Regions from separate parts of the Homo sapiens genome. Here region 2 is linked to region 1. Evidence: promoter capture Hi-C in human tissues and cell types (Jung and others, 2019). All regions are on one chromosome and are shown on one strand. The core of a region is centred on a gene start or on the middle of the fragment in contact, and the rest is flanking DNA. Distances in the headings are between cores, read along the strand shown.

Region 1 (5,197 bases), core at 862-3,361:
TAGAGCACAGGCAGTTTAGCAAGTGGCTTTCTCTTCACTGGGGATTGGGTTGTTGTTGTTGTTGTTGTTTTGTGTGGAATTTTGCTCTGTCGCCTAGGCTTGAGCCCAGTGCCGCAATCTCTGCTCACTGCAACCTCCACCTCCTGAGTTCAAGCAATTCTCCTGCCTCAGCCTCCTCCCAAGTAGGTGGGACTACAGGCGGGTGCCACCACGCCCGGCTATTTTTTACATTTTTAGTAGAGATTGGGTTTCACCATGTTGGCCAGGCTGATCTTGAACTCCTGACCTGAGGTGATCTACCTGCTTCAGCCTCCCAAAGTGTTGGGATTACAGGTGTGAGCCACTGCGCCTGGCCAGGGGATAGGTTTAAATTGTGTCAACATACCTGTCTTTGATCTAAGTTCAGGCCAACTTCCATTCCTCAATATTTTGTGGCTGTCACAGACCTGAGACTGACATTCCAGTTTCCGGAGCCTTTGTTCCACTCCAAAATCAGAGTTCAAAGGTTAATTTCATCAAATTCTATGTGGATGCCTTCAAAGAGTATGTCTATGCGCACAAAGAAGCCGGCCATATGCTTATGAGCATTAAATGAGTTAATATATGTGAAACAATTATAATAATGACTGGCACATAGCAATAACTCCATAAACATTTTCTGGTGCTGCTGTCGTTGTTATTGTTATCCTCCATTTGTTCAAAAAGAATGTATCAAGTGCCTGTAGATGTTCTGGGCACAAGATATACAAAGGTGAACTGAACAGACCAGATCTCTGCCTTTATGGAGCTTAGCATGTATGTGTCCATACTTGGGAGGGGGAGTGTTTAGTTCACAAAATAAACAAAGTTCTGTAAGTTGAGCAGAACAGTGAACGGCTGTGCTACCTAGATGGGTGGTAATAGACTACATTCTTGGTGAGGACAGGCCGATCTCTCTTGTTCGACACTGTTGCTCCAGCATCTTGTGAAAGCCATAGTGGGTACCTGATTTATGTTGGTTGACTAAATAAATAAATGGGTGACTTTCTGAGAGGGAGCACAGTTAAATCCGGCACAACAGGTTTTGGGTTTAGGTGGTGTGTGCAGATATGATGTAAGGTATGTAGTTTGCAGGTTCTGTTTATGTGGCAGAGTCGGCGTCAGAGTATACGTGGGTGGACGTGGGGAAGAGAATGAGGTTATGAAAGCACAGATGTACATAAGTAAAGTCTGCATACATCTGAGGTAACATGAAAAGCAAAGTCTTTGGTTGTGTGATTTTTGAAGTAAATCTGGGCTTAGGTGTGAATCTAAGTGTCGGTTCCGACTGAGGTAAACCTGGACTTGTGTCAGTGTGTGAGATTAAAATCTGGGGTTTGTTGTATGAGGGACAGAGCATCAATGAAGAGTGCTTTGCAAGGCAAAACCTAAGAATGTGTGTGTGTGTGTGTGTGTGTGTGTGTGATCTGAAATGAGGCAAATTAGGGGTGGTAAAAAGCAAACTAGGATATTATATAGAAGCTAAGAAAGGGCTTATGTGAGCCAAAGGGCTTTTGTGACTCTCAATGAAGTAAGAGGGCTTCTCTCTCAGTGTGTGTTTGTGTTGTGTGTGTAAGCCAATTCAGGACTTCATGTGAGAGTGTGGGTTTGCAAGGCAGATTCTAGAACTGGGTGTAGTTATGAGTGTCATCCTAAAGATCAGGATGAGGCAAGTCCGGGGTTCCGGGTAGGATTGTGAGTCTGTCGTAAATTTGAGTTTGTATGTGTTAGTTGTAAATCAGGACTTGGCTTTGAGATGAATCCACCTGGGTCAGCTGGGTTTTTGTGCACGAGGGACGTCAGAAAGCTTTGTGTTTGTGAGGCAAACTAGGGAGTTAGTGTGGGTGAAGCAGTCAAGTGCTGGAGTGTGAACATTTCTAAGACGTCTAAATTGCGCGAAAGTGTGTGAGGCAAGGCTGTTGCGCGAGCGGGCAGTGTGCGCCTGTGTGTGCGTGTGCGCGCGCGCCAAGTTTGGTTTGTGATTGTGATGGGCACCGACGCTGCGTCAGCCCGGGAGGCCACGTTAGGGTTGGGGGTGCGTGAGGAGGTGCGGCCGGGCGAGAGGTCCAGCGAGTGAGCCAAGCGCGGCGCTACTCTGGGCCCCTGCTCCGCGCGCTAGCTGGCTGTGTGGCTCGCTGGCTCGCTAGGGACAAGCAGGAATCGGAGCAGCACTGCCGCCTCTGGCGCGAAGGCTCAGGCGCCTCCTCCCGCCACAGTCACTGTGGCTCGGCGCACGCTGCCGGCGGCTGCCCTTTCCGCCTCTGGGGAAGAAAAACCCGCGGGCCGCTTTCGTGCTTGAACCATGGCCTCGGGCCGGAGGGGCTGGGACAGCTCCCACGAAGACGATCTGCCCGTGTACCTGGCCAGGCCGGGCACCACGGACCAGGTCCCGCGGCAGAAATACGGCGGCATGTTCTGCAACGTGGAGGGCGCCTTCGAGAGCAAGACGCTGGATTTCGATGCCCTCAGCGTGGGGCAGCGGGGCGCGAAGACTCCTCGGAGCGGCCAGGGCAGCGACCGAGGATCGGGGAGTCGGCCCGGGATCGAGGGGGACACCCCGCGCAGGGGCCAAGGCCGGGAAGAGAGCAGGGAGCCCGCGCCCGCCTCCCCCGCCCCCGCCGGGGTAGAGATCCGGAGCGCCACCGGCAAAGAGGTGTTGCAGAACCTCGGCCCCAAGGACAAGGTAAGGGGGCCCCGGGTCACTTCCCTCCTTGCCTTCGTTCCTTTCTCCAGCCCTGGCCGCCATGGCCCGGGCACAACTTTCTCCAGCTCACTTTGCACGGGGCTGGGGGACAAGGAGGAGGAAAGGGTCATCCTCCACTGAGCGTAGCGCGACTTCCTAGCCCAGACCCTGGATTCGCGCGTGTCGCCACTTGCAGCATCTTCGTGCAAGCGCGGAAGGGATGCCCGGGTTCCCCTGCCTGGAGCCGCGTCCTTTGCCCCTGCCTCCTCGCCGCACTCCTGGGCCATCCGGTCTGGGTGGGTGTGTCAGCCCGGGAAGGCTTAGTGATTTCCAGCTCTTCTCTCTAGTAGCCAACAGCACAATTGTCTTGCCCCCCTCTGGCCCTAGATTAAATCTCAACCCGGGTCACCACGGCAGAGGGCAAAGTGATGCTGGGAATATGGGGGTCATCTCCATAGTGCCCGGATGAAAGTACTGGAGGGGCGGTCTCCCCTCTCAGTCTTCAAACATCAGCTCTGTCCCTGAAACTTTTGGGTGTGGAGCCTCTAGACTAAACACGCGAATCTCTCTCTATGCCTCGCTTGTGTCTTAGCACGGCATTTCACATCTGTGTTTGTAAAGAGTGTATTTGTGTACATAGCTTGGCACAAGACTGGGTATTACAGGGGTCCAGCTGCCTCTGCAAGAATAGCATTATATTTTAGAAAATAGACGAGAGTATTAAGAGTGCACATTAAACTAGCATGAGATGCAAATTCCCTGCTGCTCTTAAATGTGCCAAAGCCAATTTCTTCTGTATGTGTATTTTTGAGAAACTTATGTCACACTGAACTGACTGAAGGGATGGCATTGAAATCTAGCTTGCCCTGATTTATGTGTCTATTTCACAGAGACTCAGAGATGTAGTTCAGAAAATGCAGGGCCTGGCAGGGCTGGAGACTTCAGAGTTCAAACTGAAGCTTTCAGTTGGGGAATAATAATAATCAGATGCCCTCACCCTTGTCTAGGTAATGGCCGCAAAATCCATCCGCATGTATTATTCTGCACTAATATGGTTAGGAATAACAACCTGAAATGGAAATGTCTGCCTCAGAGCAATTACAGTTAATGCTTATTCAGGTTTTAGTTGTTTTTCCATTAAAATGCAATGAGCTAGTGAAAGAACAGCATCTCTGTTCACTGTTTGATTTTTGAAAGTTTAGACAAACCAACCAACCAACCTTTGACTACTAAGACCACCAGGGAAAATAAGTGCTGAAGTTAGTGCTGTTCAAGGGTACCACTTGGAAAACAATGTCGGCTTCCTCTGAAATCATTCATTTAGTTTGTGATTTTCACATCATCCTTTTAGTGCGTGATTCCCCTAAGCCCTTGCTTACCAACGTTTTAGGGAAAACTTCTGATATTTTGCAAATGTTTTGGTTGATATCTAAACTGAAGAAGAACCCTATAGAAAGGTTATTCCTTTCTTCATGTCTGACTTGTCCATATTGAAATGTTCCCTTCCTGACTGGAACGGGCGGGAGTAGTGATGGAAAAGGTCGGTAACAATTGCTGTGAGTCAGTGCTATTCCCTTTGCTGAAACACCCCTGATGTAAGCCAGATAATATGCTGGGTTTGCAAGATTTAAGAATGGTAACTAGAGAAAGGGAAAATATTCCTCCTTTAAACCTAGCAATTCTCCCGTTTTCCTCCCTTTTGCAAACCCTATACTTTTGGCTACTAATTGAGAAATAATAATACAACCTAGGCATCAGCAGGATTTCTAGTGCTACATAGTCATTTGTAAGTTTGGGCTTGCCATCTGCTTCATCCAGGCCATGTTATTATCTCTAATTTGGTTGAATCACACTGTTAGAAGAGACCACGGAGGTTATCAAGTTCTGAACTTGTTGTTTATTTCCTTGAGGGTAGAGATTGTGTATTTGGATTTATCTATGTGGCTAGAATGCTTGGCACATTGGAGGTGCTCAATAAATGTTTGATACACTAAACCTCCTTAATTAAACCATCTGTTTTGCCACATAGCTGGCAAAATGATCATCTGGCCTCTGCTTAAATACAACCATTGTCAGGGAGCTCACTACCTCATGAAGCAACTTTTTGGACAACTTTACTTAAAAAAAAAAAAAAATTAAGCCCAAATCTACCTACCTGTAGTTTCTACAAATTATTCTTAGTTCTGACCTTTGGAAATATAAGGGTAAATATATTTCCTTATTATGAGACATTTTAATGATTTTTAGGTATGTGCACTCTTGTATCTGTCAGAAAAGGCTGGGTGATGCCATAGTAACAAACAACCCCCAACTCTCAGCAGCTTAATAAAAAACATAACAACATATTTCTTGCTCCTATTTGTCCAGTGTGAGTCAACAGGGAAGCTCTATTCATTATTGTGCCTAACTTGATGGAGGCTCCATCTCTACACATCTGTGTATAGTATGTGGCAAATTGTATACACACTTAATTCCTTGCTGAAGTAATGAACATGA
Region 2 (5,197 bases), core at 778-3,277, 140 kb after region 1:
TCCAAAAGTCCAAAACAAGGCTTGAGAGGTATTTTGAACTTTTGTACCACAAAATTATTTTAATCTTTATTCTAAGAATAAGGAAAATATCCTGGACTGTCCTTTAACAGACCACTGTGGGGCTGCATGGGGAATAGAATGGAGTGGTAAAAGTGTATGTGGACAAACCCGTTATAAGGCTAGACTGATGGCAGTTGGATCAGGGAAATAGTAGTGAGGACAGAGAGAAGTGAAATATTTTAATACTTAAAATATAAAATTTCAGAACCTGGTGATGAATTGAATACGCAGATGACAAATGAGTCCTGGTTGCTGGCTGGCGTAAGTGGATTTGGATAGAGAAGCCAGTCACTGAGAGAATTTCCTGAGAAGATATTCAGGAAAGACAAAGATAAAGAAGTCCTTTGAGTTTAAGATGGCTTTGGGACATCCAAGGGGAATCTGAGTTGAGTTAATGAAGCCATGTATTTGAAAGCTAACAGCTAGAAAATACACTCTACAAATGTATACTATCATGACTGTCCCCAATATTGTATACTAACTTCTAAACTTAAGCCAGAGAGCCTGCTTCCTTTTGTTACTTCGTTTGGACATGCAGTCTTCCTTCTTACCTTTTTAAGAAGTGACACCATTTCCTGTGACCAGGCAGAAGGGTAAGTTACAACAGTCGTCTCAAACGTGTGTACAATTTCCTTGCTGGAAGTACTGGAGCGAATATGATACGGTCTCTTAAGGGAGAAAAGAAGTAAAAGTCTTCATTTGTATAGGACAAAAGAAAAAAAAAATTTCCAAATGTTTCCAAGCTAAACTTTCAACCGATAAAATATCTATATCAATTTCTAACCCTGTCCAGCTGACTCTTGCGTTGCCATATGTGTAGGTGGTCCTGTGTTGCCAGACCCCCTACTTTTTCTTAAAGAGACACTAGGAATTTATGGTCGCTTCTAAAATACCATAAATTTTAAAGTTGAACACTCCACTGAGCCAAACAAAACATTCAAGTGGACTGAATCAGCCTCTGAGATGCTGATTTGAAATTGTTTTATAAGGTATTATATAAGTATTAACACGAAATACTGGACAAGTCCTCAATAAATGGAAGTCTAAAAAATTATTATGTAAGGGTTGATTGCAAGTAAATCCAGAATTTTACCATACCATCCCTTTCACTGCAACATAATGAGGAAGCTCAGGACAGAAAACTGCTCAGAAAACATCAACTCCAGTCCCACAAATGCTATGAGTCCCTGGTTCCACAGAGTATGGCAGGGTGGAGAATTTTGTGATGAGGCAGAAGCTTTTAAAAAAAATTTTGGGGGAAGAACCAGGTTCTTCTACAGTTTTAATTTTGAAGAAAAGTAATTTAAAAAGAAAAGAAATTAAACAAAAGAAAACTGTGGATTAGCTGTAGTTTTCACAGCTTTACACTAGAGGACAGCCTTTATCTATATTATTTTGTAGGGGACTCACCAACACTGAAATTTCATGTCTCTTATGTGAACTGTAAGATACTCACAGCCAGAGATTATATCATTCTTGTTCATGAGACCAAGCATTCAGTAGGTGCACAATACATGTTTATTTAATGAACAAAATTTCCATATTCGATTAACTAGCCACAGCACAGTTAATATGGATATACACATTGATCACATGCCTGGCCCTTTTAAGATATTTAATAAATGACTGTTGATGGATGACCTAAATTGGGGGAAATGAAAGGGTTTAAGTTTTTCCCTGTAGTAAATCAGTGTTAAGAGGTAATATAAAATAATCATGTGTTTGAGGTTAAAAGGATTTGGTGCTAAACTTCTCCACTCAATTTCTGAGCTTGTTACTTCATCTGTAAAATGAGCTACCTCATGAGATTGCTGGAAAAATTAAAGGAGATAATATGTGTAAATTTCTCAACAGAGTGAGTGGCTAATAGTATTAGACACAATATAAGAGAGAGATTTTTATCATTATTGACACAAAGGTAAAAATGGGCATATGTAAATGTGAATGAATAGTGAACAGCAAAATGAGTCCTCAAGAAAAGTGATGGGAAGAAAAGCTTAATTTTACACATGGCAAGTCAATGTCAGCTATTCATGGAACCATGAAGTGCCAGGAGGTGGCCCTTGAAAGGGAGATTAATTCAAACATTTTTGCTTTTTAAGTAAGATCTAAAAACAACTGCCATATTTACCCCCTCAACACTAAATAAAGGACCATAGCTATATCATATGTCTTGGTAATTATATAGTAGAAATAACTCATTAACTCAATATCAGTAAAGGAGTGCTAGATGCTTTATCACCATTATCAATGTTTATTGGTAATTTAGTAGCCAAAGGGTTAGGTTACTCCATATGATTCAGACCATGTTTATCATTAAGAATCAGATTAGGCTTAGTATACTCAAGCTTCTAGGCTTATATGTGTATGCACATGTGTTTTTACTTTTTTCTGTGTTTCTTCTTGATTTTAATTCATTGCTGCTTCTCAACCTACTGTTTCTGGGCCACCTAGAAAATAAAATGATTTTATAAACAAATGAATTAACTGATGAATGCCACAAGCAGCTGGTTTAAGTGTGTACATTTTTCTCTAGTTACTTTACAAGGCCATATGACTGAATTTAATTTTTAAAATCTCCATGACCTGTTGGTTTATTAAAAAATAATCACATTGTCTTTATCTTATTTTTTAATTTACTTTTACAGTTCTAAATTTTAAAATTAATTTGAATTAATCAACTACCAGAATTGTATATTTATTTATTTACCAATTATTTATTGAATGCCTACCATGTTCCAGCACCTTTCTTAGGCATTGAGGGTACAATGAAGAACAAGACACATATGGTTTCTATGTTGGTGGGGCCTACAGTCTACTTAAGGAAGCATGTAAATTTATTATATAGACTGTATACACACACACACACACACTTAAATAAATGGGATACATGCTATAGAGAAAAATTACAGTATGCAGTCACAGTATATATCATAAAAGCCTAAGGCAGCATCTAAACTAACAGTGAGCATATAGAGAATAAACAAAGTGGAAAAGGTGAAATGTTATAAGGGAACAAATGATGTGTTGTGAATATGGTTGTATTTCAGAAGTGCAAAGGCAAAAGAATTGCAGCTAAGCATGTACAATGAGTACAAAACTATGTACACATCTATCCTAAGTTAACACTTTTGGATAATATGAAACTATAAAAGATGTGGACCTTTGCCTTTGCAATGGCAATGAGATAGTAGGGAGTTAGAGAGATGACAAAGCAGATTAATAGTTAAGGGACACATTCATTAAGACTGAAACCAAACTCAGAAATGATGAGAATGTTTTCGAGCACATTTTCTCATTAAGACATATACTTTTCTGTAAATAAAAATTTGTACGTATGGAGGAAATTGTTTAGCACACTTCCTCTGTGCTTGAGTTGTATTGATGCTTGTAATTAAATGTTACTTCCTTTTCTTCAGATAAGCTACATTTTGAAACGTAATTGCAGGTAGCATAGTTGGTCATTTTTTCCTAGAAGGTGTCTAAGTGATTTGTTTCTCCATTCATTCAATAACTGTCAGGCCTCTGAGCCCAAGCTAAGCCATCATATCCCCTGTGACCTGCACATACACATCCAGATGGCTGGTTCCTGCCTTAACTGATGATATTCCACCACAAAAGAAGTGAAAATGGCCGGTTCCTGCCTTAACTGATGACACTACCTTGTGAAATTCCTTCTCCTGGCTCATCCTGGCTCAAAACGTCCCCCGCTGAGCACCTTGTGATCCTCACCCCTGCCCACCAGAGAACAACCCCCCTTTTTCCTTTACCTACCCAAATCTTATAAAACGGCCCCACTCCTATCTCCCTTCGCTGATTCTCTTTTCGGACTCAGCCCACCTGAAACCCAGGTGAAATAGCCTTGTTGCTCACACAAAGCCTGTTTGGTGGTCTCTTCACATGGATGTGAGTGAAAATAACCATGTATTATATACCTATTTAAAGTTAAATATTGTGACCAGGTGCGGCGGCTCACACCTGTAATCCCACCACTTTGCAGGGCCAAGGCAGGTGGATTGCTTGAGCCCAGGAGTTCAAGACTAGCCTGGGCAACATGGTAAGACCCCAACTCTACAAAAAATACAAAAAATTTCCAGGCATGGTGGCATATGCCTGTAGTCCCAGCTACTTGGGAGGCTCAGGCGGGAGGGTTGATTGGACAGAGGAGGGGGTGGTTGCAGTGAGCCGAGATTGGGCCATTGCACTCCAGCCTGGGGGACAGAGCAAGACTCTCCTGAGGAAAAAAAAAACAGTTAAATACTGTGAATAATACTAACCTATATAAGATACATACTTTACCTTTAATGAATTAACAACCTAATAATATACAAGAGATAAAAAATAAAAATTGATATGCCTATAGATTTAATCCTTAAAAAGAAAATAGATTTAGGTGTTCTGATCTAGAAAGCTGTACATTTTATCTTATGAAATGAAAAAAAAAAAGGCTCAACAAGGTAAAACATACTTCTATTTTTGCTAAAACAACACATCTATCTATATCTATCTATCTGAAGATAGAGTATCCTTATGAGAACAGAAACAAGTTGGAAGTGAATGCAACAAACTGCTAAGATGGGGTTTAAAAGTCAAAGGGAGTTTAATTTCTTAATTGGAAATGTTCTTTGCCTTAGAGACTACAGCTGATTTTTGCTTTCATTTTCGTGGTTTTCTATATTTTCTAATAAGCTTAGATTCCAAAGATTCACAGGATACATAAAGTAAATAAATGTTTGGAAGAGATTCGGATCACTTTAGATAGGGAGGTCAGAGAATGTTTCTTTAGAGAAAGTGCTATTTTGTCATAGGTGATAAAGTATGAATAGAATTTGAATATAAAGAGATCTAGAAAAACCTCCCCAACACGAACTGGAATAGTTTAATAGTGTGTCCTTTCTTAGAAATGACCAAAATACTTGGCTATAAAGATTTTGAAAAGCCCTGCAATGAAGATATATCCTTTATTAAAACTTCATTTAGTGATTTCAAATCTTACGCAGAGTGATTTTTAAAGAAGACCAAGGTTTGCCTTGGAAACTCTCTTTATAGGCGAAGGAACAAGAGGTTAAAAAACCCAAGAGATGCTTTGAGAAGAGGAAGAAGTTCTAAGAGGCCAAAATGAGTTCATGAAGGGTCA

What was found. The method cuts DNA at HindIII sites, captures the fragments that hold promoters and counts their contacts. A contact is called where the count stands out against the background at its distance.
Region 2: a fragment that was not itself captured here is called in contact with the fragment with the promoter of DPYSL3 in region 1 in 2 of the 25 tissues and cell types used here (IMR-90 fibroblasts and mesenchymal stem cells).

The regions. Positions count from the first base shown.
Region 1 is chr5:147,506,982-147,512,178 of GRCh38, reverse strand. It overlaps DPYSL3 (dihydropyrimidinase like 3), which reads left to right and starts at 2,111. Exons shown (of 14, transcript NM_001197294.2): 1 at 2,111-2,701. The coding sequence starts at 2,321. The HindIII fragment of the contact is 5,398 bases long and covers 1-4,738 here.
Region 2 is chr5:147,366,185-147,371,381 of GRCh38, reverse strand. STK32A (serine/threonine kinase 32A) reads right to left here. Exons shown (of 13, transcript NM_001112724.2): 9 at 612-728. Among named protein-coding and RNA genes, the nearest start is that of STK32A, 130 kb to the right of the region's middle. The HindIII fragment of the contact is 3,105 bases long and covers 475-3,579 here.